Regions from separate parts of the Homo sapiens genome. Here regions 1 and 2 are each linked to region 3. The links are contacts of gene promoters, found by promoter capture Hi-C in blood cells and fetal thymus (Javierre and others, 2016). All regions are on one chromosome and are shown on one strand. The core of a region is centred on a gene start or on the middle of the fragment in contact, and the rest is flanking DNA. Distances in the headings are between cores, read along the strand shown. Region 1 holds the start of LOC107986759 (a long non-coding RNA gene). Region 2 overlaps IQCE (IQ motif containing E). Region 3 holds the start of TTYH3 (tweety family member 3).

What was found. The method cuts DNA at HindIII sites, captures the fragments that hold promoters and counts their contacts. A CHiCAGO score of 5 or more calls a contact.
Region 1: a fragment that was not itself captured here is called in contact with the fragment with the promoter of TTYH3 in region 3 in 4 of 17 cell types (neutrophils, monocytes, M0 macrophages and 1 more); the score reaches 9.8 in neutrophils.
Region 2: a contact is called between a fragment that was not itself captured here and the fragment with the promoter of TTYH3 in region 3, in 4 of 17 cell types (monocytes, M1 macrophages, M0 macrophages and 1 more). The highest score is 9.5, in monocytes.

Annotation. Positions count from the first base shown.
Region 1 is chr7:2,508,079-2,510,778 of GRCh38, forward strand. It overlaps LOC107986759 (a long non-coding RNA gene), which reads right to left and starts at 993. Exons shown (of 3, transcript XR_001745066.2): 1 at 652-993; 2 at 1-39. RefSeq lists enhancers at 1-538, 1-412 and a silencer at 58-211. The HindIII fragment of the contact is 4,512 bases long and covers 1-2,700 here.
Region 2 is chr7:2,565,639-2,568,338 of GRCh38, forward strand. IQCE (IQ motif containing E) reads left to right here. Exons shown (of 22, transcript NM_152558.5): 2 at 1,478-1,525. Among named protein-coding and RNA genes, the nearest start is that of IQCE, 8.0 kb to the left of the region's middle. RefSeq lists enhancers at 914-1,093, 1,205-1,807, 1,374-1,423, 1,624-1,793, 1,808-2,409. The HindIII fragment of the contact is 1,425 bases long and covers 648-2,072 here.
Region 3 is chr7:2,630,636-2,633,424 of GRCh38, forward strand. TTYH3 (tweety family member 3) reads left to right here and starts at 1,351. Exons shown (of 14, transcript NM_025250.3): 1 at 1,351-1,643. The coding sequence starts at 1,521. RefSeq lists enhancers at 776-1,507, 2,240-2,789, 2,752-2,789 and a silencer at 1,292-1,701. The HindIII fragment of the contact is 11,109 bases long and covers 1-2,789 here.

The DNA.
Region 1 (2,700 bases), core at 177-2,676, 120 kb before region 3:
GAGGCCACTGGGATGACAGCAGAAGTCACGGAAGGCTGCCTGGAGGAAGAGGCAGTCACATGTTAGGATGAATGCAAACACTGGGGAAGCTGACCCCACTTCTTGAAGCAAAACCTTCCTGATGGGGCCCAACCTCCTGTCCAAGGTTGCCGCCACTACGCTGGGCAGAAAACATGTGTTAGGGCCATGCCCCAGCCCGAGCGAGGCCTGGCCCTGGCCTCCCACCTTGGCCTGTTCGTCTTACCCCCATCAAGCAGGAGGCCAGCCCGACCCGCCTCCTCCTTCCGGAGTCTCCAGCTGTACAAGGGGAGGGAGCCATCTCGGGGCAGCCGGGTCGGGCTCTGGGTGTGTGCACACAGGGACACACGTGTCCCTGCACATGGCCAGCCCACATGTGCAGAGTGGCAGCGCGCCATGCTCCCCACGGGCTCACCCGTGCTTCCGCACACACGCGTGAAGCACGTAAGCACCGCACGATCACAGGCCCCTCTCGCGCTCCGAGGCATGTGCCGGCCGGCATGCATCCTGCCAGGGAATCTGCGTCTCTGTCGGTGACATACTCCGTTTCCTGCCACAGCCCTGGTATGCCCCAGGAGTAATTACTAACAGAGTTCCCTCCCAGCCTTGAAAGACGATATACTATGTGGTCACCTCTGTCTGGGCCACCAAGAGGATCCCAGCTGGGCTTTTGCTGAGCGGGGCACAAAAGCCATCAGGAGCCAGTCTTGGGGACTACAGCTGGGGGTCGGTGACCTTGATCAGGCCCAGGGAGGCTGAGAGGAGTCTCGCCCACGCTGCACCCACAGCCCCGCTCATTCCACACCTGAGTCTTCAGAGAAGGAAATGCAAGACCGTGCAGTTAGGACCTGGAATTGTCAGCCTGTCCCCATCCTGCCAGCGGGGATTGGCCTGTGGTTTTGTCAGCTGCCAGCCAGCGGCTGAGGACCAGCCCTGCAATCTGAGTGGGGGCCTGTGGGAGGATGCAGCTGAGGGGAGTGGCGAAGCTGAAGAAACTCTCGAGAAAGGTGGGAGGGGCCGGGGCAGTGTCAGGGCCGCTGTGCACATCCGTGCAGGTCGTGCACTGACTGGCAGCACACATCTGAGATCCAGCCCGTGCTCCGCTCATCGGGTTGTGAAGAAGCAGTACCTCTTTCCAAGCAGTGGCCCAGGCAGTAAGCGGAGCATCTGGCAGGCGGGGTCCACACTTCCCCAAGACCCTGTGCTGGCTGTGGCTGTATGTGCACACTTCTACATGACTTGCAGGGTGCCCAAACGGCCCGGAGGAGGCCGGGACCCCAGCCCCCAGGCCAGGGCTCCCGTGAGTAGGGAGACGCATCACTCTCTGGCCCCGGAGGCTGTGCTTCCCAGGCCATCACAATGGCCACACAACAGGGGCCCTCAGGGACGGAACCTAATCTTGAGCTATTGAAGACCTGAAAGCCGTGGCCCCTGGCCCGAGCCAGCAGACGCGCCTGCCGGCCCCACCAGAGACACCTGATCCACCGGTCGCCCCGCCACAAAGGGGGACACTGTCCCCCCAGGGCCGCCCGCCCCACCAACAGAGACAAGGAGGAAAACTGGGTCGCTGAGATAGAGTGACAGCCATGGCAGGTGGGGATGAGACAGGAGGGAGGGGCGGCCACCACTGGGCACAGCCCAGCCTCTGGGGATGCCCCAGGCCTGAAGATCTGCCCGAGGGGGGCTCAGAGCCCCGAGGAGGGCTCAAGTGACTGCCGGTTTGCAGGGAGTGGGGTGGAGGCTGGAGTGGGGGGCGCAGCTGAGACCAGAAAGAAACAGCTAGGACCCCACCTGAGGCTGGAGACACAGCCAGGACAGGGGACTCTCCACCCAGAGAGACGCCATAGGCCAGGTTGTTGGGGACAGGCCTGGACTGGTCCCCAGGCCCCACCCTGCTGAGGCAGGCCAGCCAGCTGCCCACCCCTTGGCCTGGGCATGTCCAGCTTTTGCTCAGTTTCCCAGCCTGGCAGGGCTTTCCGAGGGGTTGCAGGGAGAAGCAGGCCTGGCCAAAAGACCGCCATGCCTGAAGGTTCACCTTCACCCCCTGGCACCACCAAAGACCCCGCCCAGGGGAAGTCTTGGAGCCTCAGCGCCTCAGAACTTTGGGACTTCCTGGCATATGGGAGGCACCCGGAGGTGTGAGCCTGAGGGGTTCACTTTCAAGGGTGGCTGGAGACACCTGCTGCTGGCCATGTGGGCCTGGGAGGCCTTCTGGGGCCTCCATCTTCCCATCTGTGAAATGGGACTTGGACCTAGATGCTCTTCAAGGTCCCTTCTTCCAAGTCTTCTGGCAAGAGCCAAGTCCAGGAAGCTCAGCTCCATTGCGTCGGCATCTGGACTGAGTACTCTGTGGGTGCCGGGCTGTGCTGAGGGCTGGACGGGACCCAGGAACAGACAACAGGTAGAGTGGAGGAGGGAGCAGCGAGGAGACTTCCCACAGGGGTGGAGACGCTGAGCACTCCAGGCAGACACAGAGGGGCGGCTGGAGTGTGGGGATCCTGGGCCTGGCAGGGCCTGGGGGGTTCGGCAGGCAGAGTGGGCCAGGGGGTGGCCTGAGGACGCCAGGGGCAGAGCCAGCCCTCCCAACTGGGCAGTGGGGAGCCAAGGGAGGGTGGCAGAGCCGAGCCCCATCTCTAAGATATGGGGACAGCCCTCAGAGCCAGCTCCCACCCAGCTCCAGCT
Region 2 (2,700 bases), core at 110-2,609, 65 kb before region 3:
TTTTCTGATCCCCCGCTAACCTGTGTGTCCAGTTCCCGGCCTGCCCTTCCTCAATTTTGTGCATAATTTCAATACACTTTGCTAAAAGGAAAACTTCTCTCTATAATTGTCATATGCTGTTTATGTCTTAAAAGGTCACCTTAAATAGGTGATATAAAAAATGATATAAAAAATTTCAGTCAATGGCTGATTTTTTTAAACGCTCCATTTATTTGGAATGCACCGTCTTTCCTTTGCCCCTCGAAATGCAGTCACATTGCACTTGTGTCCTGGCCTGTCTAGTTGCACCTTATCCATGTTATCATGCAGCCAGGCATTTCTAATACAGTTTCACACTGCTAGCAAAATTGGCACTTCATGTACTATTAGCCTTGTAGAAAATAAGTTTGCTTTTCAGAACGCAGTAGCATCCCATTATGATACTGCGTGGACTCAGCTATACCAGGGACAGGTAGCACAAATGTCATCACCTCCACCCCAAGCTGTAGAACTATTGGCTCATAATGGGGCATTCAGCTCTAACTTCCAGTGTCCGCATTGGAAAGCACCAATATGATCTTCCGAGGGACTTTAAACATTTTATGCTTCTCTTTTTGGATTTCAATTTGAGTGAATGAGTTAATACAGAAACACTTTTGTCTTCAAAAAGCTTCCTTTTTTTTTTTTTTTGGCCATCCTCGTGCTGAAATCAGACAGTACAAGTCTTATTTCATTCCCTGGACCAGGACAAAGTCACTGGAATAAGAAGGCAAGAACCTTTATAGGCCCAAATGCCTTCTCATTGTAATGCATATGTTTTGGTTTTTGTTGGTTTTCGTTTTTTTTTTTTTTTTTTTTCCCAGCTGGGGTCTTGCTCTGTTGCCCAGGCTGGAGTGCAGTGGCATGATTATGACTCACTGCAGCCTCGACCTCCTAGGCTCAAGCGATCCTCCCACCTTAGCCTCCCGAGTAGCTGGGACTACAGGTGTGTGCAACCACAGCCTGGCTTATTTTTTAAATTTTTAAGATTTTTTTTGTAGAGACAGTGTCTCACCATGTTGCCCAGGCCGAGTTTGCTTTTTAAAAGATGACTCTCACCCGTTCTTACCAGGAGACAGTCACAGATTCGTTGTGCTTTGATGTAAAGATGAATAAGAGTGAGAACATTTATGTAAAAATGAAATGCTTTCAGCAAGAACTGGTTTTGTTTTTCTTTGTCAAGACACAATTCTGTGGGAAATAGTGTTACTAGATTTGCAGACATTTGCACGCCTGCTGGGCGGCGTTTTGTGTTTTGTTCCCCCCACCCACCCATTCCTTCTGATGAGACTGAGGAACTGGCTGCTGCCCAGCTGGAGTGTTCTGAGTGGCCTCAGAGCTGGATTTCTGGAGTTTCTGTTTCAGCAGCTGTGGACGGGCTGTTTTCGCTTTTGTAAACGTGATGGTCGGAAGCCCAGCAGGTGCCGTCGAGTTACAGTGTTTGCCTCTCTTCCTCCAGGGAGATGACAGTCTGTCTGCAGTCACCTTTGACTCTGATGTGGAGACGGTGAGTGCCGCTGGGTGTCAGCCGTGCGACCTCGGGCTGGTTGCGCTGCCCTTGCAGACTGCACTCGGAAGCGTAAAATAGGCCGTTCTCCACAATACTGTGTCGAGAGCTGGAATGCATATTCCGAATGCTCCTTGGTGTTTGAAAAGTTTCCAGCCCTTAGGTTTAAATACCTGTGGTGATAACTTTAAAACTTTTATCTGGACGTGAATCCTGAGCAGGGCTCATGTGAGACAGATTGCTAGTCCCTGGCCTGCAGCTGGTTTTGCCCTGCACCCCACGCCCTCATCCTGACACTTGAGGGGAGGAGGAGAGCCCCTGCTAATGCCGTCGGAAGGACCCGATGGGAGAAAGCAGACCTGGGCAGCCGCCATCCCAAGCTGAACTGCTGCCTGGCCTCCCAGCCCGGAAAGGAGAGGGGCAGGAGTGGTGTCCGATGGCCCAGTGGCACACTATGGCCCCGGACTGGGCTTTGGGTTTGTTTGGCAAGCTGTGCTGGGTAGAAAAGGAAGTGTGCCAATTGCTCTTCTCGTGTATGAGCGAAAAAAGCTTTTCTTACTGGAGACGCAGATCTAGCAAACCTGCAGCCAGCAGAACGAACCCGGCACCAGCAGATCTCAATTCCACGTTTGCTCTGTGGACTCAAGGGGGAGCCTCAGCTCCACTGTCTCCCTCCAGGGACCTCTGTTCGCAAAGTTAAGGATTTTCCCTCCATGTCACAGAGGGCAGGGGATGCTCCTCTGATGTTCCCCGGAGGAGGAGGGATCCAAACCAAGCCCCAGGGAAAATTCCCCCCGCGCAGAACTTGGGGCTCAATGTTTCTGCTGGAGGGGAAGTGAGGAGACCTGGCCGCGGTAGCCTTATCTGCTCGGTCTAGTGCAAGGTGATGAGGAAGTTAAGGTTGGAAGCATGGCAGCATCTTCCCCAGGCCACGGCACGACGGGTTGTGTGTCTCTAATGCAAAATCCAAAATGCTCCAAAAATGGAAACTTTTTGAGCACCCTCATGAGGCCACAAGTGGGAAATTCCACCCTTAAGTACTTCACACAAGCTTTGTTTCATGCACAAAGTTATTAAAAACACAATATAAAATTACCATTGCACTATGGGTATAATGTATATATGAAACATAAATGAATTTTGTGTTTAGACTTGGGTCCCATCCCCAAGATACC
Region 3 (2,789 bases), core at 101-2,600:
CTCTGGCAGCTCCCATCTCCCCTTTAGCAAAGGAGGAGGCACAGGCATGGGGAGGCCCTGTTAGGAAATTTGGCTGTGTGGCTCCAAAGCCCATGATGGGCCCTCTCTGGCAGGTGCCTGAATTTTTAGGCCCCAGGACACCAGAACAGGGCACCGTCTTCATCTTAGGTCTTGACAAAAGACTCAACCTTCCCCAGAGGGAAGGCCGGATGGGGACTGAATCTACCTGCGGATCCACTTAACACTCGTACCTTTTTAAAAAAAATTTTTTTTATTTTTGAGATGGAGTCTCACTCTGTTGCCCAGGTTGGAGTGCAGTGGCGCAATCTCCACTCACCGCAACCTCCATCTCGCAGGTCCAAGCAATTCTCCTCCCTCAGCTTCCAGAGTAACTGGGATTACAGGCGCCCGCCACCACGCCTGGCTAATTTTTGTATTTTTAGTAGAGACGGGGTTTCACCATTTTGGCCAGGCTGGTCTCGAACTCCTGACCTCAGGTGATCCGCCTGCCTCGGCCTCCCAAAGTGCTGGGATTACAGGCATGAACCACCACCACGCCCTGCCAACACTCGTAGCTTTATCATCCCCTTTTACAGACAAGGACACCGATGCACAGAGTGGTTAAGTAACTTGCCCCAGATCACACAGCTCTAGGTGCCCCAGCCAGGCCCTGAATCCAGATCATGTCCATTGTACAGATAGGCCACTCGGTGCCTTGCTGGGCGCTGCGGGCTGTGGGCTGTTGTGTGTGCAATGGGGAGGCCAAGACCAGCCCAGCCCACCAGGCCGGACCCTCGAGTCAAATAAGAAACATGCAAAGATCCAAACGAAGAGCGAATTCATGGAATGAAGCGCAGCTGCATATGCAGCCAGGGTTCCAGCCCCCACGGCCACGTGGAAAGACTGGCTGGCCCGGGTCTTACAGCGCTGAGGGTCGGTCTTCCAGCGCCTTAGGGGCCAGGCGTCCCTCCAAGAAGGCGAGGAAGTAGGCGGAGCTTCTGCCGGCGGACTAATGACGGTACAGAGGCGGGGCCGAAGGGCGGGGACACGTGGAGGGGCGGGGCCATTGGGTAATGGGCGGGGATGCGAGTGGAGGGGCAAAACCATCAGGTAAAAGGACCAATAGAGGTTCAGGAGCGAGTGGGCGGGGCACGCTGTGGGGCGGGATCGGCGGGGGATAGACCAATGGTGGGTAAGAGGCGGGACAGAGGGCGGGGCGCGCGGGGGCTGGGCTGGCGGGAGGCGGGCCAATGGAGGCTCGGGGGCGGGGCCGGCGGGCGGACGGGCGGGGGTGCGGAGGGGGCGGCGGCGGCGGCGGCGAACAAAGAGGCGGCGGGCGCGGGCGGCCGAGCGGAGCCGAGCGCAGCCGAGCCGGGCCGAGCCGGGCCGGGCCGGGCCCAGGAGCGCGCGGATGATGCGGGCGGCCAGGCGGGGGTCGACGGGTCCCTGAAGCCCGCGCCCCGGGCCAGCAAGGGAGCCCCGCGCAGGCCGCGCGCATCCGGAGGCGGCCGGGCCCCGCCATGGCCGGGGTCAGCTACGCGGCGCCCTGGTGGGTGAGCCTCCTGCACCGGCTGCCCCACTTCGACCTGAGCTGGGAGGCCACTAGCAGCCAGTTCCGGCCCGAGGACACCGACTACCAGCAGGTGACATGGGCCTCTCGGGGTCGCGGGGTCAGGGACCCCAGGTCACGGCCCCCTCCTCTCCCAGGGTCACGGCCCCCATCCCCGAGGGCCTAAAGACCCCTCATCCCCCCCTCCAGGGTCACGGCCACCTCCTCCTCGCAGGTACCGGCCTCCTTCCTTCTCGAGGGTCCCTTCTGAGTCCTAGGACCCTTTCTTCCAGGGTCATGGCCTCCTCCTCAAAGGTCTAAATACCCTCCAACCCCCAGTGAGGGTCCACGGCCCCCCTCCCGATTCTGGCCTTCCCTTCTGGTGTCACTAAGGCCCCTGGGTTTCATGGAGCTGCCTCTCCCCACTCCGTGAGCCCCCTTGGCCAGTGGAGGGCCTCTCCACCATCACTGTTGGCGGCCTGGTGCTGTGTCCCAGCAGAGACCCCTCCCCAGATGACCCCCAGGCTCTGAGATCAGAGCGGGTGCCTGAGCACATTGGGTGCAGGCAGGCAGAGACTCCTCGCCCACTCACCCCCGACTGGGGAATCCCACTGCCAGGCTTCCAGTGGGTGAATGGCCTGGGCCGCCGCCAGCCCTCTGTGGCCGGTAATGACCCCCTGCTTGGCGGTCAGGCTGTGGGATGTACACAGGGTGCCGTGTGTGGCCGTGGGAGACCAGGCTGCCTGTAGCCCCCGGGGGAGGGAGGCCCGGCGGCCAGGAAGCACCGTGGGCCTCAGGCAGGGAGGCTGGAAGCGGCTGAGCCCAGGCAGACCTGGGGGGCGGCTGGGGGCCCTTTGCAGCCCTCTCCCAGGGGAGCCCTTAGCCTGGCATCATGCCAGGCCCCAGCACCACCCCCATCGCCAAGCTACTGTCATTTGAGTGCGGGGCAGGGGACCAAGCTGTGGGCATTTCCTTCCTGCCTAGAGATCCGGATTCCAGAAGCCCCGTGACCAGGGTCCCTGGTCACCCGGAGTTTCTCTCTGGACGGATCATGGCAGAGCCCCATGGTGGGGTGGGGATGGCTTTGCTTATCAAAATGGCTTGGGAATCCGGTATTCCGCGGGCAGCCTAGCACCTGGACTCTTCAGAACTGCGTTGTCTGTGGCCTCCCGCATCCAGAGGAGGGAGGCGGAAGTGGAGGAGCAGGGCACCTGGGAGCCCACTGCTCCCAGCCTCGCGC